Regions from separate parts of the Homo sapiens genome. Here all the other regions are linked to region 4. The links are contacts of gene promoters, found by promoter capture Hi-C in blood cells and fetal thymus (Javierre and others, 2016). All regions are on one chromosome and are shown on one strand. Each heading gives the region's core, a stretch centred on a gene start or on the middle of the fragment in contact. The rest is flanking DNA. Distances are from core to core; before and after follow the strand shown. Region 1 overlaps FAM81A (family with sequence similarity 81 member A). Region 2 has its middle 72 kb from the start of GCNT3. Region 3 overlaps LOC124903499 (a long non-coding RNA gene). Region 4 holds the start of SLTM (SAFB like transcription modulator). Region 5 has its middle 75 kb from the start of AQP9. Region 6 has its middle 130 kb from the start of AQP9. Region 7 has its middle 43 kb from the start of GCNT3.

What was found. The method cuts DNA at HindIII sites, captures the fragments that hold promoters and counts their contacts. A CHiCAGO score of 5 or more calls a contact.
Region 1: a contact is called between a fragment that was not itself captured here and the fragment with the promoter of SLTM in region 4, in 17 of 17 cell types (total CD4 T cells, naive CD8 T cells, activated CD4 T cells and 14 more). The highest score is 24.6, in total CD4 T cells.
Region 2: a contact is called between a fragment that was not itself captured here and the fragment with the promoter of SLTM in region 4, in 8 of 17 cell types (naive CD8 T cells, total CD8 T cells, total CD4 T cells and 5 more). The highest score is 10.0, in naive CD8 T cells.
Region 3: a fragment that was not itself captured here is called in contact with the fragment with the promoter of SLTM in region 4 in 6 of 17 cell types (total CD4 T cells, endothelial precursors, total CD8 T cells and 3 more); the score reaches 7.8 in total CD4 T cells.
Region 5: a contact is called between a fragment that was not itself captured here and the fragment with the promoter of SLTM in region 4, in 2 of 17 cell types (fetal thymus and erythroblasts). The highest score is 7.8, in fetal thymus.
Region 6: a fragment that was not itself captured here is called in contact with the fragment with the promoter of SLTM in region 4 in 1 of 17 cell types (naive CD4 T cells); the score reaches 6.0 in naive CD4 T cells.
Region 7: a fragment that was not itself captured here is called in contact with the fragment with the promoter of SLTM in region 4 in 1 of 17 cell types (neutrophils); the score reaches 5.3 in neutrophils.

Annotation. Positions count from the first base shown.
Region 1 is chr15:59,504,334-59,507,033 of GRCh38, reverse strand. The region is part of intron 4 of FAM81A (family with sequence similarity 81 member A); the gene reads right to left. Among named protein-coding and RNA genes, the nearest start is that of FAM81A, 67 kb to the right of the region's middle. The HindIII fragment of the contact is 3,067 bases long and covers 1-2,700 here.
Region 2 is chr15:59,538,713-59,541,412 of GRCh38, reverse strand. No RefSeq gene overlaps it. Among named protein-coding and RNA genes, the nearest start is that of GCNT3, 72 kb to the left of the region's middle. The HindIII fragment of the contact is 5,264 bases long and covers 1-2,700 here.
Region 3 is chr15:58,231,975-58,234,937 of GRCh38, reverse strand. The region is part of intron 1 of LOC124903499 (a long non-coding RNA gene); the gene reads right to left. Among named protein-coding and RNA genes, the nearest start is that of AQP9, 95 kb to the right of the region's middle. The HindIII fragment of the contact is 468 bases long and covers 1,356-1,823 here.
Region 4 is chr15:58,931,959-58,934,963 of GRCh38, reverse strand. It overlaps SLTM (SAFB like transcription modulator), which reads left to right and starts at 1,285. Exons shown (of 21, transcript NM_024755.4): 1 at 1,285-1,560; 2 at 2,521-2,608. The coding sequence starts at 1,399. RefSeq lists enhancers at 839-928, 949-1,088, 1,379-1,618 and silencers at 1,119-1,298, 1,669-1,928. The HindIII fragment of the contact is 26,250 bases long and covers 1-3,005 here.
Region 5 is chr15:58,211,917-58,214,956 of GRCh38, reverse strand. No RefSeq gene overlaps it. Among named protein-coding and RNA genes, the nearest start is that of AQP9, 75 kb to the right of the region's middle. The HindIII fragment of the contact is 1,961 bases long and covers 496-2,456 here.
Region 6 is chr15:58,262,996-58,266,056 of GRCh38, reverse strand. No RefSeq gene overlaps it. Among named protein-coding and RNA genes, the nearest start is that of AQP9, 130 kb to the right of the region's middle. The HindIII fragment of the contact is 4,002 bases long and covers 1-3,061 here.
Region 7 is chr15:59,567,094-59,569,839 of GRCh38, reverse strand. No RefSeq gene overlaps it. Among named protein-coding and RNA genes, the nearest start is that of GCNT3, 43 kb to the left of the region's middle. The HindIII fragment of the contact is 2,941 bases long and covers 1-2,746 here.

The sequences.
Region 1 (2,700 bases), core at 166-2,665, 570 kb before region 4:
ACAGGGATGTTGCTTAATAAGGCTAGAGATGTAACCACCAAAGAAATAAAGTCTTTCCAACGATCATGAGTACAACACTGTATGTGCAGCGAGAGGCCAATACAAAGAGCATAGCTAGTGTGCTGGATGTGGTCTGTCACTCTTCAGTACCACCCCTGCCTTTCGAAGTTGGGGGCCTCCTTGGATTTGGGAGGAAACTTCTACCATGTTAGAAAATATTACTTCTAAACTTTGACTGAATCACTCGTAAGGCTGTATAGTATGAGTAGGGTGTAGAGCAGGGGAAGGCTTTGCAGCCAGTTCAAGCTGTAGTAAAAGCTGCTGCCCTGTGGGCCTTGCAACTTGGCAGATCCAATGGTACTCAAAGTATGTGTGGCAGATGAGCTGTGTGGGGCCTCTGTCGAGTCCTAATAGGAGAGTCACAGAATGGACCCATAAGAGTTTAGAGCTAACTAATGCTCTGTTCTGAGACAATATTCCTCTGTTGAGAAGAAGCTGCTGGCTTGCTACTGGGCTCAGTAGAGACAGAATGCCATTAGGTGACTCTGCAATCGGAGCAATCCATCATGAATACCACACTAGAAGGTGGGCCTAGAACAGCACTCCATCTTCAAGGGGAAGGGTTCAAGCAGGTTCAAAAGGCACAAGTAAGTTACAAGAGCACAGACTCCCACCATGGCATCTATTCCTGCTACTGCACCAACTCTCCTTCAATCCATGCCTATGACTTCTTCATCTTCTCCCTCCTGCTGCTTGGGAGGCTGAGGTTGAGGCAGGAGAATTGCTTGAGCCCAGGAGTTCAAGGCCAGCCTGGGCAACATAGCAAGACCCTGTGTCTACAAAAAGATAAAACGATAATACAAAACAAAACAAAACAAACAAACAAAAAAATCTGTGGCTTCTAGAAGAGTTCTTGATGACCAGGTGGACTGAGGGAGAAAGTCAGGCCTGGCTTACAGATGGTCACACCCAGTATGCTGACACCTTCTGGAATAAGACTGCTGATGCTTCTAAGTCCACTTAGGAGTAGCCCTAAAGATTGTTAGGAAGACAGAATTTCTAACAATATATTGGGAGATTCATTTTGCCTGGAATAAGAGATGGCCAGACATTCAAGGAAAGTGGCTAATGGTTAGAGACTTAGGAAAAAAACTGGAGGATTAGTGACAAGGAAAAGAGTTTACATAAATGGATCATTCTTAAGTGACACAACATTTTTGCTCCTTGTAAATGCTCTTTGTCTCGTAGGGACTGAAGCCCCAAACTATACTTCCCAGACGTCATTGCCAGAAGGGTTCGGAGTTAGATTCTGACAGTGAGAGTCATTTATACAAGACTCAGAAGGTAGAAGAGGAGAACCCTTTATTCTCCCCTGTCAGTGGTGGGCAGACACAGGGGTGAACTGCAGATGTGAGGTGTACATCCACTTCCAGGCAGACACCATCCAGCAAATCACTTACTTCCATGCTATAGGTGGCTAAGATGATCAATGACGCCTTTCTGTGATTTTTTTTTTTTTTTCGAGACAGAGTCTAACTCTGTCACCCAGGCTGGAGTGCAGTGGCGTGATCTCGGCTCACTGCAACCTCTGCCTCCTGGGTTCAAGCCGTTCTCCTGCCTCAGCCTCCTGAGTAGCTGGGATTACAGGTACACATCACCATGCCTGGCTAATTTTTGTATTTTTAGTAAACATGAGGTTTCACCATGTTGGCCGGGCTGGTCTCAAACTCCTGACCTCAGGCAATCCACCCGCCTCAGCCTCCCAAAGTGCTGGGATTACAGATGTGTGCCACCGCGCCCAGCCCTTGTCTTAATTCTAGACTAGACATAGTTGAAGATAGAATCAGTGGCTTCAATGATAGTAGCAAGGAACTCACTCAGAATGTAGTGGACAGAGATTAAAAACATGAAAAAATAGTTAAGAAACATGGAAGTCAAATAGAGGGATGTTAACATAAGTCAAGGAGGAGTTCCAACAGAAGGAAATAGAGATAATGGCAAAGAAGCAATATTTGAGGTGTGAATGCCAACAATTTTCTAAAATTGAAGAAAGACATGAATTTTAAGATGTTCAATGACTACAAACTGGGATAAGTAAAAATACATAAAGCATGGGGAAATTCAGATAACCAATGATAAATATAAAATCTTAAAAGCTACAGACTAAAGAGAAGTAACCTACCCAAAGCTACCAAAAACTGACAATAAGACTGACAGCCCACAATAGATATAGGAGACAACAGATATCAGAAGATAATGGAGAAACATCTTCTAAGTATTGAGGGTAAATAACCTATCATCCAAGAATAAGTACAAAATAAAGACTTTTTCTAACATGCAAAGATTAGAAAAATATCACCCACAAGCCAATACTGAAAAAGTTACTAATGAATGTACTTCAGTAAAGAGAAAAGAACACCCACAAAGAAGGAGTAGGGTGCAAAAAACAATAGTGAGTAAATGGATAAAATTGTGGTAAACTTATTATTGACTCTAAAGAAAGTAAGCTACCAGCTCAATTATTCCAACTTTCTTATAGACTCTTACTTTGCAACAACTGTTCTAGAATGTAAACTGCATGCAAGGAGACATTATATATGCCTCTTTCATCACCTAAAACCCTAGTTTTATTTATTGCCTTGCATATGGTAGAGGCTTAATAAATATTTGTGAATGAATGAATATAAGGAAATATTTACT
Region 2 (2,700 bases), core at 32-2,531, 610 kb before region 4:
TTGGGAGGCTGAGGCAGGAGAATCACTTGAGCCCAGGAGGTGGAGGTTGCAGTGTGCCGAGATCATGCTATTGCACTCCAGCCTGGATGACAAAAGTGAAACTCTGTTTCAAAAAAAAGAAAGGGAGGGAAGGAAGGAAGGAGGAAGGGAGGGAGGGAAGGGAAGGAGGGAGGGAGGGAGGGAGGAAGGGAAGGAAGGAAGGAAAGAAGGAAGGAAGGAGGGAAAGATTTCAAGTGCTATCCTGAGAATGATTCCATCTCAACAGTTTCCTTAGGCCATTTAATTCAGTTCAAATTTCCAAGCCAAAGTATTTGCCCCTTAGTGGGAGGTAAGGAGTCCTTTCAATAACATTTCCACCAGAACCACACAGAACCGGGGCTTGTTCTTCAAGAGAAGCCAGAGGCTGTCACCCTAGTAAAAGAAGGCACAGGCTGGCCAGGCAGCAGGAGACATCCACTTCAACCCAGTTATATTTTGAACCCAAAGGCACAACCACGTCTTTATCTTTATTACATTTTTAAATGGATGTTGAGTGTTTATTTTCCTCCAGGTTATTGGTAGAGAGTGTTTTAATATTTTTATCACTCCAAAAAGAAACCTTGTCCGCATTAGCAGTCACTTATCATTCCACCTTCACCCCAGTTTCTGGAAACCACCAAGCCACTTTCTGTGTTTATAGATTGGCCTGTTCTGAACATTTTATAATGCATGAAATTTTACCCTATGTGGTCTTTTGTGACTGGCTTCCTTCACTTCAGATATATTTCCAGGCTGGTCGTGGTGTCTCACACCTATAATCACAGTACTTTGTGAGACCGAGGTGGGTAGATCGTTTGAGCCCAGGAGTTTGAGAACAGCCTGGGCAACATGGCGAAACCCCATCTCTACTAAAAATACAAAAATCAGTCAGGCATGGTGGTGAGCACCTGCATTCCCAGCTGTTTTGGGGGCTGAGGCACGAGGATCACCTGAACCTTGGGAGATCCAGGCTGCAGTGAGCCGTGATCAGGCCGCTGCACTCCAGCCTGGGCAACAGAGTGAGATACTGTCTCAAAACATTTAATTTTAAAAAAAAAGAATCTTTCCAAGGGTCATCCATGATGTAGCATGGATCACAATTCCATTCCTTTTTACGGCTGAATAATATTACATTGTATTATGTGCCACATTTTATTTATCCATTCATCAGTTGATGAATATTTGTGTTGTTCCCACCTTTTGTCTACTATGAAAATGCTTCTATGAATATTCTTTTTTTTTTTTTAGATTTCCTCAAATTCCTTTTTGTCATGTTATGAATATTCTTGTACAGGTCTTTGTGTGGACCTAGGTTTTCAGTTCTTTGGTGTACACACTTAGCAGTAAAACTGCTGGGTCATATGGGAACTCTATACTCAACATTTTGAAGAACTGCCTGTTTACCACACTCTTTTCCAGGGTGTGGCATGGTGACTCACATCTGTAATCCTAGCACTTTGGGAGGCCAAGGCAGAAGGATCACTTGAGGAGTTCAAGGTCAGCCTGAGCAACATAATAAGACCCTGCCTCTACCAAGAAAAAAAAAATATATATATATATATATACACGTATATATATACGCGTATATATATACACGTATATATATACACATATACACACGTATATATATACACGTATATATACACACGTATATATATACACGTATATATACACACATATATATACACGTATATATACACACATATATACACGTATATATACACACGTATATATACACGTATATATACACACGTATATATACACGTATATATACACACGTATATATACACGTATATATACACACGTATATATACACGTATATATACACACGTATATATACACGTATATATACACACGTATATATACACGTATATATACACACGTATATATACACGTATATATACACACGTATATATACACGTATATATACACACGTATATATACACGTATATATACACACGTATATATACACGTATATATACACACGTATATATACACGTATATATACACACGTATATATACACGTATATATACACACGTATATATACACGTATATATACACACGTATATATACACGTATATATACACACGTATATATACACGTATATATACACATATATATACACGTATATACGTATATATACACATATACGTATGTATATACACACATATACACGTATATATATATGTACATATATACACACATATATACGTACATATACATACACACACACATATATATACACACACACATATATATGTGTATATATACACATACATATATATAAAAAATATATAGCTGGGTGTGGTGGCCTGCACTGATACTCTTAAATACTCAGGAGGCCGAGTGGGTAGGATCACTTGAGCCAGGAGGTTGAGGCTACAGTGAGCTATAATTGTATCACTGCACTCTAGCCTGAGCAACAGAGTGAAAACTTATCTCAAAAATAAATAAGTAAATGAAACCAAAGGGGCTGCACCAGTTTGCATTTTCACTGGCAATATATGAGGTTTCCAAATTTCTTCACATCTTCATCAAAACTTGTTACTAGCCAGGCACAGAGCCTGATGTCTGTCATTCCGGCATTTTGGGAGGCTGAGGTGGAAGGATTGCTGGAGACCAAGAGTTTCAGACCAGCCTGGGCAACACAGTAAGACCCTGTCTCAAAAAAAAAAAATTGA
Region 3 (2,963 bases), core at 340-2,839, 700 kb after region 4:
TCTTTTTTTTTTTTTTTATGGAGACCGAGTCTCTGGAGTGCAGTGGCACAATCTCGGCTCACTGCAACCTCCACTTCCCAGGTTCAAGCAATTCTCCTGCTTCACCCTCCCGAGTAGCTGGGATTATAGGCATGTGCCCTAACACCCAGCTAATTTTTGTATTTTTAGTAGAGACAGGGTCTCACCTAGTTGGGCAGGCTTGTCTCGAATTCCTGACCTCAGGTGATCCACCCGCCTTGTCCTCCCAAAGTGCTGGCATTACAGGCATGAGCCAGCATGCCCAGCCTACATTTCTTTTTAAAGTGAACAGAACCCAATATGAATCTTCAGTAAATTATTTTCCTTAATCATAGAATAGATGGCATCACTTCCTTTATGATTATTCCTATAGACCTTTGCCAACTCAGCCTTAAGATCCAAATATAAATCACAGAACAGTGGAGATGGAAGATTTAGGATCATCGAGATTTAATCTCTTACTTCATAGACAAGGAAACTATGAGAAGTGAGGTGATTTGGCCAAAGTCACAGAGATAAATTAGTAGTTACAACAGATTATATTTCGTATAATTGTTTGCTTAAAGCCACATTTCTGAGTCACTTGTCTTAGAAGTTGGGGAAAAAGGCAGGGTGAAAGAAAAAAGTTGAGCTATCAAGGTTCAAGACAAAAGGTGAATTGGGACCTTGTATGGAAGGCGGATGTCAGAATGGGAAATGAAAGGATACCAGCTGCTCAAAGCCAAAGACAGAGCACAAACCAAAGACATGAGTGAGTCAAGGGAGGGGAGTTCATGAAGGGTTGGTCTGTGCCAAGGAGGTGAACTACAAGGGAAACTTAGGGGGTTCATGAGGCTGTGCTTTCAATTGCATTAACTTCTCTTGCAGGCTTGCTCTTTTTAGAACAGAGGAGTTTTATATTTTTTAAAAATTGAGGTAATTATTTACGTAATTAAGAAATCAAACAGTGTTAAAAAGCTTATAATACAAAGCAGTAGTTCCCTGAACAAACCCACACCGGCTGCTGGTTCTTTGCTAAGGGACATGCTTTGAATTTTTAGCTGGTTTCTCTGAGTTACGTGTGCATTTAAATACGTGGGTATATTGCAGTATTTAAACTTACAAATGTTATCAGAGATGAAGATTTAATATCTCCACCTCTCTTCAGCCTCTCACCCAAATTTTACCACACTTTAAGTTATATCAATCATAGGTCTTTAAACCATTATGACAATGTAAGTATTGTATTGTTCACTCCAGAACCCATTAGAATACTGGGATTCCATATTTTTTCTTGAATAGGCTTTGGTCATTCCTTGAGTTAATAATTGCCTGATTGCATCTTCTTTCCAGAAGCTTCATCATATCACCTATTGCATCACCCTTTCTATTGTGGGTCTACTTTTTCCTGGACACTCCTTCGTGAAGCACTATCTCTTCTGCACCAGTGAGGATTAGTGGCTCTCTAGTTCTGCCACACTTGGGATTAACTTGGGATCTTCTCTCAATAGCTTTTCTAGGTTGGATTTAGGTTTCTGGGATGCCATGTTTTCTTTTTCCTTGATTATTTCCTTGTAACCAAGATGCCTATCCTCCAGGCACTTTTAAGAAAGGAACGTCAATTATCTGAGTCTAAACAAGTCTGCAAATGTCCATTCTGTTTTCATACTTGATTCAATTTGCCTTGTTGTAAAATTCTAGGCTGAAAAATTATCTTCTTTAACATTTTGAAGGCATTGCTTCATTGTTGCCTGGCTTTTATGTTGTAGTTCAGACCACAAACACTATTCTGATTCTAATTCTATTGATTTGTTCCCTTTGAAGCTTTTAGAATCATCTTTTTATTCCCGATGTTCCAAATTTTCACCTCTTGGGAGGTCTTTCTTAATTTGTTTGTTGACCATTCAACAACAGGTCAGTAGGCTTTTGATAGTGAAATGTACTGACACCAGAGTTGGATGGCCCAGATTCAAAATCTGACTCCACCATATAGCAGCTATGGCACTGATTAACTTACTAACCCTCTCTGGGCTAGTTTTTTTGTCTGGGAAATCCCGAGGAACCTCATGACATTGCTATGAGGATTAAAACAAATAATATACATGCAGCATTTAGAGTAGTGCCTGGCACATAGTGGCAAATGCTGTATTGAGATAGTCATTGTCAGCATTCAGTTCTGCAGAATCAGCATAGCAGAGTGCCGTACCCAACCATGTGTCCCCCTGATTGGACTGGCTGCCATTCACTGATGGCCCCCCAGGAAAACCACTTGGCCCCAACCACACTCTTAAAGGCTGCAGAGGGGACTTTTGACCTTTGTTGAGTTCTGACTCTGTCATCACCAGTGTGGAGCACTGCTTTCTTGGCTGGCCAGGCCCACCATGGCAGCTGCTCCAATCCTTCGTGCCACTCACATGAAGGCATGATTCAACAGGACCTGTGTCATACCTCATGCAACTGTCATTCACTTCCTTCCCTAGGACTTCCCTGTTCCCACTAAGGCATGAGACTGTGGGTGCACCCAGCACCTGCACTTGCCTGATGGCTTTCTGAGCAGGGTCTGAGACACTGCAGGCAGCTGTGCAAGCTTGTGGGTGTGCCACTGGCCCATGCACACTTGCTGGCTGCCATTGCTGCTGCTGCTGCAGTGGGATCTGGCTTCCTTGATGGCTTCTGGAAGAGCCAGATGGAGCAGCCAAGAAGCATAGGGGAGGAAGGATAAAATCTTATGGGGCAAGTCCGACCATTGGAAATGGGAACCAGCAGATAAATTTTCCTATTTGCTCTCAGTTGGATCGTTAAGAGACTGAAAAGCAAACATCTTTACTCATTACAAATCCATGGCCAGCTTGGGAGCACCCTCTCTTATATTTGTTCCCCCTCCTTCCCTGCCTTGTTCCCTCCTTTCCATCATTCTTGCTTTTTGGGGATTGCGTTCCCCAGTGAAGAGTTAGCAAGAAAAATTT
Region 4 (3,005 bases), core at 36-2,535:
TCAAGTGATGGGCCAGAAGATTTCTAAGGAGTCTTGCATTCTAAACTTCTATTATTGTGAATCCAATGTTGTAGCAGAGACAGAGCTGGATTTGGAATCAGGAGCCTGGGATTTGAGCACAGCTCGGCCACATACCAGCTGTGTGAACATGGGCAAGTCATTTAATCTCTCTAAGCCTCACGGAGATTTACTTGACAGACTTGGGAAGGATTAAGGGGGTTACTGTACGTCAAAGTGCCTTATAAACTGTAAAGAACTACCCTAATGTCAGGTATTCTTTTATAATGTCCAGTCTTCCTTTTTTTTGAGCCAATCAGAAAAAGTAACCTAAAGTGAGTCAGATCTCAGGAATTTAAGTTGTAAAACCAGGAAATACAGTATAGTTAATTGTGCATCATAATCACCTTATGGAATTTATAGAATCGTTTTATTTTATCAATGCTTGCACTTTGATAATGAATAATACAAGGTAAAATTACAAATAGGTACTCACTTGTACAGGCCGATCCTCCATAAGAAGATGCTCACTGTTCTTGGAATCCCAAATTTTGGGGGGCAAAATAGTGAACACAGTATATGATAACGGCAACAAGTACTTATAAGCTAGTTTTCTCTTTCATTGAACAATTTCGTGTTGAGCCATCAGGTCTACCGGGGAGGATAGCAAACCTGAGGCCAACAAGAAAGAAGTTTTCCTGTTTTTCAAGTGAGGAAGGGCAGCCCTAGAATAACCTAAGCTGCCATGGGCAGGGCGATGATGTTTTCTCCTGAGACAGCCAATGAGCCATGTGTCAAAGGCCAGCCCTTCCTATTCTTTGGACTAACAGCCCTAGAACTGCTTTGAGGTCTTTTGAATGGAACTCGGGGAACCTAGTTCGTTGGTGCACACCGGCGACAATTTTTCGATTATTCAGCAGAACTGATAAAGTATTTCCTTGAGAGGTTCAGCGCGCGCACGCGCCCCCTCGGTTTGTGTTGAGTAACGCGCGCACTATGTCATTCAGTGCCCGCACATCGTTGTTGCTCAAGACTCAAGACGTTGCAAGAAAATGGCTAACGAAGCGACGAGAGAACGGCGGCGCGGCGGACGTTGCTGCGGTAGGACGTGCCCGACCTCCCAGTCCACACAAGGGAGCGCACCGCCCAAGTGGCCGCGGCCCGCTCGACCGAGCGCGCCGCTGCCGGTCCCTGCGCCAACGCGCACGCGCGGCCGTCATCCGGGTGCTGGCGGCTGCTGCTGCAGGTTGCGCTAGGGTGGCGGACCGGGGGAGGGGCCAGCGGCTCATTGTGCGCAGCGCTGCGCGGCGCCGGCGGCCGCCGAGGCCTGGGTGGAAGTTGGCGCTGCTGCCGCCGCCCTGCAGCCCACTCGCTGCCTCGGCAGCGCGCTGCTCTTCTAAGATGGCTGCCGCTACCGGTGCGGTGGCAGCCTCGGCCGCCTCGGGTCAGGCGGAAGGTAAAAAGATCACCGATCTGCGGGTCATCGATCTGAAGTCCGAGCTGAAGCGGCGGAACTTAGACATCACCGGAGTCAAGACCGTGCTCATCTCCCGACTCAAGCAGGTGAGGCCCGGCGAGGACCGGAAAGGACCGGGAAGGGGAACTTAGGCCGCGCCTCGGCGCCCCGCTTCCGCCGCAGCCTCCGGCTGCCCGCAGCCGCTGGGACCTGCGGAACGGCATGGTAGGGAGGCCAGGGGCGGCTCCCGCGAGCGTGGAGGACGGGGACCCTTCCGCGGTGCCCCCGCCCCGCGCCCCGGGCCGGGCCGGGCCTGCGAGGGACCGGCCACCGCAGCCCAGCGTGCCTCCGCCTCCCCGGGACGTCCCCGCCAGGCTGCGAGGGTTGCGGCCGGCCGGCGCGGCCTCCCAAGGGCGATCGCGGAGACCTGGGAGGCGCTGGCTCCCCAGCCTTTAGCCATGGTGAGCGTGTGCATTTCTTGGCCTCAGAGGGAATGGTTACTTTGGTGACTTCTGCGAAGTTACCGTTTAATTGTGCCCAACCGTTTCTTCCCCATCTTGAGGGGGAATTGGTAGTGGGAGTTGATGGGTGGGTGACAGAGTTTTTGTTTTCCACTAGGCTTTTAGTTTTTGCATCAGCGCAATAATTACTTTTTCTTTCCTGATTAGCTTTCTGGTTTGAGTGAGCGTTGGAATTGTAGCAGAGGAGCAGTAAGTTTGCATTACAGAAACTAGGAAAACTCTTTTTAGTTATTTACTTTAGTAGCTAGCAACTTTTCTGCAATAGAACATATTTGGATTTTTGGCCAGTATGATGTGATATTTAATTATCTTGACACGGTAGAATTTAAAACTCCTTGCGATTTTGATACCTAATGATTTTTTTCCCCTGAAAGTTTCTCTCACTCTTTCGTGTAGTTTAATTGCTCATTTTTGAAGTCGGTTGATGAAATGACTGGCAATTCTAATGTCTTGAGGCTTGAGGTTTGCTAAATTTTTTTTCATTTCGTTTTTATAAAATAAGTTTAGATAGATTGTGTAGCATATTAACTTCTCTTTCTAATGTAGGCTATTGAAGAGGAAGGAGGCGATCCAGATAATATTGAATTAACTGTTTCAACTGATACTCCAAACAAGAAACCAACTAAAGGCAAAGGTTGTTACGAGTTATGAACATGTTTTAAAATATATTTTGGTTATATAACTTGCCTCTGCTCTTGTGCCTCTTGCCCTGTTTATATAGTGCTACTCTTTGCTATTTCCCTCTGGCAGTCTGCCTTCTTGGGTCAAGGAAGAAAAGTTACTGTTGCCAGGCTTTGGGTGACTTGTAGCCCTTAAGATTCGGCTGAAGCTGATTAGAAAGTGAGAACAGTTCTTTATTGCTTCCGGAAAAAATTACAAAGTCAAGTTGTGTAATGATGCTTCATAGTGTGAAGACCTGAATAAAATACAGTTTAACACATGTCTACCTTGCCCCACAATTGGCAGAGTTTTGATGGAATTCCTACCAAATCTTTTACCTTGCCTCCTTGCTGTTTTCTTTAGTATATTAA
Region 5 (3,040 bases), core at 227-2,726, 720 kb after region 4:
TGGCCATGCTAATTGGAAACCTTAGTTTCAAATGAAAGGTTATACTCCGGGCAGTAACTTCTCCAATCTCCAACGGGGTAGTGCCTTCTGCAAAAGGGTAGCTTTAAACACACCAACCTATAAATTAAACCACCATGCTGAGTTTGCACGAGAACATTTTGCAAGGTAGTTAAACAATGAAAAGTAAGCGTGTTTCCTATTGGGTCCTTTTCCCCTCAAAGAAAGGGAACTAGTGGTGGAGATGCTCAATGGAAATCAAGCATAAATTAAGGGGCTTAAGCCTTCCTAGGTAGAGAAGTAAAAATAACCGAGAAATCCTCAAGGTTGGATTTAACTTTTCTGCTTTTTTTCTCCGAATCCGTCCTTCCCCCACCCCCTTTTTGTGTTTTCATTTAACATTGCATTTTCTTTTTCCTTTTCTGATGTACCTACAGTTTATTTTCCTTCTTTGACTGGAACAAAAGGATTTTTATTCTTAATGTGTGTTGGAAAGCTTGGTATAAAAAATTCTAGACAGTCAGCCCTGTCCCCCATCTAGCTGTTGCTTATAATGGACCTCTTTTCAGTGAATATCTAATGAAGGTAGCTGTTAAATAAAAATGAATGTTATATATAAAATTGTAAAATGTTATTTTCTACCTTTTAGAGAAAAAGCATATCAATGTGGAATGTATAATTTACAGTCAAGCTGGAAGACTACAGCAACTTAAATGGTACTAGGCACGGAACGGGCAGGAAATCAAAAGTCATCAAGGAAAGTTGGAGGATATTCCAGAGATTGCAACATAAGCCCCAGAGGTTCAATGTATTTGCTGAGTAAGGGCCTTTTAGAAAAACAAGTCTGTGGGTTGATATTATTGGCACATTCCCTCCAAATGACAGACATCATCTCTTCTCCTGAATTTATGGGGCTGAGTTTCTCATTTGTAGTATGGTGTGTGTCTCTGCATATGGAACTCTAAAATTAGCTTTTTAAAAGCAGGCATAACAAGCTGCTGGCCTGGGTTTTATTTCATCTGTATAATATTTTTAAAAATAAGAAATTTGCACATGAAATCCCTGATTTCCAACTTCTCTGGGAAGATCTGGCAACCCTGGGCTTGAATTTTCTCCTGTTAAACGTTGCTTATCTCCCATGGCTGTGAGCTCTGCAGTTTGCTGCCACCCTTAGAAGTCCCTGTTGTATATCCAGACGGCTTTATTTAAATGGCTGGCTCCCAGCAGCCTCTGAGTTTGAGACCTGTGTCATAGAGTTTCAATTCATTTTGGTGAAACGATTTCTTTTTTGACAAGGATAGGTATTTACATCTATTATGGCAACTCATGCACTCAGGATGCCTTACAAGGAGTTTTACATTACATCATTTTATTTATTCCTTCCAAATTTTACGATAAATAAAATTATTATAATTACTTAAAAAATATGTCTCTGAATCTTGGAGAGGCTATGGAACTTGCCCAAGTTAGCAGCAGAGCCGAATTCAAATCCAAAGCCCTCAGAGAACTGGGGCAAAAGAGAATGGTGAGGTTGCGGTTACCCACGGCTGATTTCCTTGAAAAGAAAGAAATCAACATGATAGCATTGAACAACCATGGGTCAAAGGCCCCAGACCTGGGCCTGAAAACATGGCTTGTCTTTCTGAGGGTCTTACCGCTTATTGGTTGGTAACGTTGAGAAATCCCCTTTCCTCTCTTGGTCTCAGTTTCACAATGTACAAAATGAGGGGAGAGGGGTGGGTGGATAAGGAGACCTCTAGAAGCCCTCAGCCTTCTGTCTTCCTTTGTGTTTAGTACATAGCTGAGAAAGGATTTGTTCCTTTTCTTCTGCTCCCTCTGCTGGGCATGGAGCAAGAGGACACTTTTTGCTGCCCAAGCCCTTTTGAATTTAATTGAATCATTTATCAAGGGCTTGCGCTGTACAAGGTCATGGTGGACTCCTGGTCACCTGATGAGACCTAGACTAGCGATGATTATGAGTCACTTTCTGATCACTGTGCAGAGCAAAAGAAGTGAAGGTCTGAAGTATCTCAGGATTCTATTGTAAACATGGAAGTTGTAGAATCAGAAACGTCATAATAGAGAGACAACGAGAGCTCATATTTATAAAGCACTAACAATAGGCCAGGCATTATCTTAACCATTTTATCTATTTTCATTTCCATTTGACTTTTAAAGCAAAACTATGAAAGTTGCCATTTATTATCTTCATGTTGCACTGGGTGGGAGGTTAGAATAGAATCCCCTTCTTTTTCAGATGAAGAAATTGAGGCCCAGGGACATTAAATGACTTACCCGAAGTCAGGCAGCAGCTCAGTGCTAGCAGAGCTAAGACTGGAAGCTATTCTAGAACTGTGTTTTATTTATTCATTCAGTTTCTCCAATTTAAAGCCTGGCTAAGGAGATAGGACTAATACACCCAGAAATAATTAACAGGAGGAGGCATGTAATTAGAAGCTTAAATTTCAAGAGTGGAAATGGGCCTTAGAGGCTATCTATTATGACTTCCTACACAAACAAACATCTCTCCATACCCCTGACCATTGAGTGCTTAGCATTTGACTTGAAACCCACCTCTAGTCCTAATTTTGTTCCTTGGAGCTATACAGGATATATCTACATCTTCTGCTGTGCACAGTCCTCCAAGAATTTCAAAATAGCTCTTTTGAACCTATAGAACATCATATCCAAGCTAAAAACTCCAAACTTCTTTAAGTCTTTCACATTATACATGATTTTGAGCAATAGTCATTATAAACCTGGTTGTCTCCCTTCGATGGATTACAGAAACGGCTTCCAATGAATGATACCTCCCGGTATTCCTGTCCTTGTGTAGTCCCCTCCCATCCTGAAGGTAGGTTCTTTGACCTACATAGAATGTGACAGAGGTGACTCTTTGCTAGTTCTGATCTTCAGCCTCAAGAAGGCCTGATAAGTTTGATTTTTGTGCCCTTAGAAGCTAGTGCCACGTAAGAAGTTCAGCTAGCCTGGGCCGGCTGTGGTGGCTCACACCTGTAATCCCAGCACTTTGGGAGGCCAAGGC
Region 6 (3,061 bases), core at 363-2,862, 670 kb after region 4:
AATGAGTCCCTTCCCTCAGTCCCTGGCAACCATCCATTCTACTTTTCTTTGTGAAATTTAGTCCTGTGAATTTTTTTTTTTTTTTTTGAGACGGAGTCTTGCACTGTTACCCAGGCTGGAGTGCAGTGGCGCTATCTCAGCTCACTGTAAGCTCCACCTCCCGGGTTCACGCCATTCTCCTGCCTCAGCCTCCCAAGTAGCTGGGACTACAGGCGCCCACCACCACGCCCGGCTAATTTTTTGTATTTTTAGCAGAGACGGGGTTTCATCATGTTAGCCAGGATGGTCTCGATCTCCTGACCTCGTGATCCGCCTGCCTCGGCCTCCCAAAGTGCTGGGATTACAGGCGTGAGCCTTTGAGCATGGCCAGTCCTGTGAATTTTAATGCACGTGTAGATTTGCGTTACCATCACCACAGCTGGGATACAGAAGAACCCCACCACCCTGGTGGACTATCCCTTTGTAGTCCCATCTTCCTCCTGACAACCACTAATCTATTCTTCATCACTATAATTTTGTCTTTTCATAAATGTCATAAATGGAGTAATAAATTATGTGACCTTTTACTACCAGTTTCTTACACACAGCACGATGCCTTCAGATCCACCCAAGTTGTGCAGTGCGGGTACCCACGGTTTGTTCCCATTTATTCTTCCCTGTGCACCTCTCTTCAACCCCACTCCTCTTCCTCCCTTGCCAAAGGGAACCCCTGCCCCGAAGTCAGTGTGTTAGAATCTCATGAATATTTTAATAGTTTTAGCTGCAAAACAATATATGGTTTTTGGTTCCTAGTGTTTAAAATGTAAATAAATGGCATCATAACATACAAACCATGCTGTAAAATGTTTCTATAACTCAGCATTATGTTTTTGAGGGATATCCACTTTGGTGCCATGTTAATGCTGGGTTACAAATCTTCATCACTCTATAACATTCTGTTATATGAGTACATCATGTATTCATCCGTTTGCCTGTGGAGGAACATGTTTTTTCCCTGTCTGTCTCTCTGTCCCATTACCTCACTCTGAATAGCAGTATTTGGCTCCCTCCTAAACCCCACTCCCTTCCCCAGGGCCTCCAGTCCCTAAGCAGGCCTTGCTGATGTTCAGAAGTACCCACAATGGGGGCAAATCCCAAATCTCATCTTCAAGCTGGCTGCTTGCTTGGCTGAGTACCTGGGCAGAGCCTTTGTCTGGATCCGTTGACCCCTAAGCCCAAGGTGTTAATTAACATCAATCCTGGATGTATGTTGCAATCTCCAAAGGAGTCCTTTAAACAGGAAAGAGGGAGAGGGGGAGAGAGTAGGAGGGGAAGAGAGAGGAGTAAAGGGAGAAGAGGGAGAGAGATTAGGAGGGGAAGAGAGAGGAGTAAAGGGAGAAGAGGGAGAAGGAGGGAAGGGACTGGGAAACGGGGAGGGAAAGGAGAGAGAGAGGGAGAAAGAATTAAAGAAATTAAGTCAGAATTTCTGGGCAGTGGTATTTTTCTAAAAACTTATCAAGTTAAAGATGCAGCCAGGGTAACAAACCCTTGATTAAAACAAAACAATGTTCCAGGCAGCATTTTCTAGCTTTCCAGAAGGTTTGGGAGCCCCAAACCCTGACTTTCCACTCCCTCCATCCCTACCCCTTTTAGCCCTTACAGCCTTGTGGGAGCCACCATCTGAGCTTTCAGAACCAGGCACCAAAGCCCTGGCCTCAGTCCAGCTCCTGGTGGGCTTTCTTGTCATTTGTAGTACACAGGGATGTTTATCTGGTTTCTGAGTCTCACTACAGTGTATAAGTCTTCTCCATTTGTTCTTTATCTGATATGTCTATATGTTGGAGCAAAGATGTTATCTGAGGGCATGAACTTACAGAAATGTTTCCTGTCTCACTTTTGAATGCATACTTTATTCGCTGAAGGACTGCTATTGTACCTTCAAAGGAACTTACGATGCCACCTTATAAAATACCTTCTTTTTGTATTTTGCCTTTTTTAAATGAAAAGGTATTGCTTTTTCTCATTTTAGAAATAATTCATGCTTGCAGTAAAAAGTTCAAACGCTATGGAAATGTATGACTTAGAAAATGAAAGAAAGTGTTCCGTAATCATGCCCCCGCAGATGATTACCACAAATAATTTTGAGCCTATTTTTCCATATGTTTACCATACACATACTAACTTTACAAAAATAAAAATGAAATTACATTGGAGAACTGTAGGGCCAATTGATTTCTGCAGTTAGTGTATCATGGAAAGTTTTCAGTACTTACATAACTTATTTCATTATTTTTAATGGACACATGGTGTTCCTTTGTCTGGTTGTACTGAGGTGCATTTACTGAGGGCCATTTGGGATGTTTTGGTTTTGGCATCATAGATGATGCTGAAATAAACTTTTCTTATGTACATCTCTGTGTATTTATGTAAGGTCAAAAACTGCTTTATCTCTTGGAACAGAAGTGAATGCATTTGCAGGGGAAAGGATAGAGCGGAGGGAGGCTGGTGCCCTTCTCAGCAGTCAGAAGGCAGTAGATGCTTGGGGCTACTTTAGATACTTGGCCCTAGGAGAATATATCTCCTGAGTCTCAAAACTCTCAATGCCGTGCATACCATGACAGATTCCCTTCACTCCACCCTGTCCTGAACCTTTTGGATTGCAGTACACCAGTCTCCAGAAGGTTAACTTGGAAAGGTTAGGGAAGTGTAGGTTTTTGTTTGTTTGTTTGTTTTATCCCTAGATTGCTTATAAAGTGTAGTATTTTTCAAATTGCAGAGCTGTGACCCATTCATGGATTATGAAATAAAATTAGAGGGTTACAAACAAGCAATTAAAAAATAGGGGACAGAGCGAGACTCTGTCTCAAACAAAACAAAACAAAACAAAAAAGAATAGTACAGAAAATAAGAGTGCATGACATGAAGTAAGTGTAAGTACTGTTTACTCAAAATTTTATTTCAGGTGTGTGTGTATACGTGTATCTGTGTGTGTGTCTTAAGTCAGTTTCCCTAGAAGCAGAGCTCAACAAAACAGATCTGGGTGTGTGTGATCTGGAAAAGTGAGGGGGACCAGCTGGGGCAG
Region 7 (2,746 bases), core at 83-2,582, 630 kb before region 4:
AGTCACTCATCTGGACACTGGAGATGCTCCAGATGACTGCCAGGGACTGAGTGCTGGGCAAGCCTGAGATCCAGGGACCAATATGCCCAGGGCATCTGGAAGAGACCTGGAGGCGGTGGCAGTAAGTATACACAGCAGGCAACAGGGCTGCCTGGTGGTGGCTTGAGAGGAAGCGATCAAACCACTGAAAGCAGACGTGGAGAGCACAGAGACGATGCCATCCTCCTGACTCGAGCGTGCAGGGACTATGAGGTTGTAGGGTGGGGTGCTTTTAAAAAATGGGGGGAGGAGGAGCGAGCCCACACAGGAGGATGAGGACAATAATAACAGCAAGGTTTTCTCCGTGCAAGAGATAGGAGGTCAGATTAGGTGAGGGAGCCAGGCCACTCCAGCAAAGGCCTTTTCCTTGAAGACCAGCAGGCCTCGTGGCATCCCCTCTCCCATCAGCCCTCAGCTAATCACTGAACCTTCTTTAAATCATAGGATTTCTTCCTCAGGTTTTCCTCAAGTTACAGGATTTCAGTGGTGGCATTATGCTCCCTACCCAAAGGGCCTTCAGGGCCCATTTTCTGAGTCGAAGTAACAGACATGAACTCTACAGAAGAGCTTTGAAGTACTTGCAACTGTCCGATAAAGAATGGGCTTCCCCCTAAGTAATAATTGGAGGTGTTCTACTGCATGCACCACAGTACCTCTCTGAATAACACACCCCCAAGAGGAAGGATCTGGAATCATAATGTAAGTGCATCATCTCCTGAAACCTTTCTCAGAGTGAAAATTAAAAGCCTGCTGTAAGGGATGACACCGGGCACTGAGTAAAATGCACGTTCTCGACTGGTGCTCCTGCCCCACTCCTTTCTTAGTATGTAACCATTAGTCCAGATTGATATTTTGCCATCTTATTTCTCAGATTGCACTTTTGTTTATGTGTGCACACACTATAGTTCCATTTGTCACCGGGAAAGTACAGCTATTAATTATCACCTATATTGACTTTCAGTTAATTGAAGGCAGGAAGAAGGAAGAAAAAGAGAAAAAAATCAAGCTCTAACAACTTGGGTTGGGGAAATAAAAGGCAAAGGTCATTGACAGATAAGAATATTTTACTGTACATAAGAATGGCTAATTTTTACTGTAGATAAGAATTTACTGCAGATTAGACTATCTAATTTTTTTCTTAGATCGAGTCTTGCTCTGTCGCCCAGGCCAGAGTGCAGTGGCGCAATCTCGGCTCACTGTAACCTCAGCCTCCCGGGTTCAAGCGATTCTCTTGCCTCAGCCACCTGAGTAGCCGCGACCACAGGCGCATGCCACCATGCCCAGCTAATTTTTTGTATTTTTAGCACAGATGGGGTTTCACCGTGTTAGCCAGGATGGTCTTGATCTCCTGACCTCGTGATCTACCCACCTCAGCCTCCCAAAGCGCTGGGATTACAGGCGTGAGCCACTGCGCCCAGCCTAAAAAGTTTTTTATTTAAAAGTTATAGTATGCTAAGGTTAATTAATGAGACAAATTTTATAAATTTAGTGTTGCCTAAGTGTACAGTGTTTACAAAGCCTACAGTAGTGTACAGCAATGTCCTAGACCTTCACATTCACTCACCACTCACTCACACACTAACTCACCCAAAGAACTTCCAGTTCTGGCCAGGTGCGGATAGGCTCACACCTGTAATCCCAGCACTTTGGGAGGCTAAGGCGGGTGGATCAGGAGGTCAGGAGTGCAACACCAGCCTGGCCAAGATGGTGAAACCCCATCTCTACTAAAAATACAAAAATTAGCCGGGCATGGTGGTGGGCATCTGTAATCGCAGCTACTCGGGAAACTTAGGCACGAGAATCGCTTGAACCCAGGTGGGCTGAGATCGCACCACTGCACTCTAGCCTGGGTGACAGAGCAAGACTCCGTCTCAAAAATAAATAAATAAATAAAATAAAATAAAGAAAGAAAAATGTTATTGTTGAAAAAAAAAAAAAAAAAAGAACTTCCAGTCCTATAAGCTCTATTTATGGTAAGTACCCTGTAATACAGGTGTACCATTTTCATTTTTTTTTCAGTTGAGACAGGGTCTCATTGTCTCCTAGGCTGGAGTACAGTGGCTCAATCCTAGCTCACTGCAGCCTTGAACTCCTAGGCTCAAGCAATCCTCCTGCCTCAGCCTCCCAAGTAGCTGGAACTACAGGTATGCACCACCAGAAGCAACAGGCCTAGGAGCAATAGGCCATACCATAAAGTCTAGGTGTGTAGTAGGTTATGCCATCTAAGTTTGGGTAAGTGCATGCTGTGATGTTTGCACAATGATTAAATCACCTAAAAATACATTTCTCGGAATGTATCTCCATCATAAAGCAATACATGACTAATTCTCTTTAGAATTTCTGGACTTGAAACAGCCATTTAATGCAATCAAGAACTTTTGCTGAAGGCTCATAATTCAGAGAAATACAACTGAATTCACTGAGAAAATTAGTTTTCTTTTTAAAAGAATTTTTAAATTTAATTTAAAAAATAATTCACACAGTTCAAAATTTTAATAATACAAAAAGCCTACAAACACTCTCATTTTCAGTAATGGCAAATTCGACCATTTGAACTAACCCTCCTGTTCAGAACAACTAGAAAAGGTCAACACAATTTTTTTTTCAATCTGCTTAAAACATCTAATAGCTAAAGAGATAGTGAAGAATTACTGGACCAGGATTCAGGAATGGATGAATAGCCTACAAGGTGAGCCTATCATTTAGG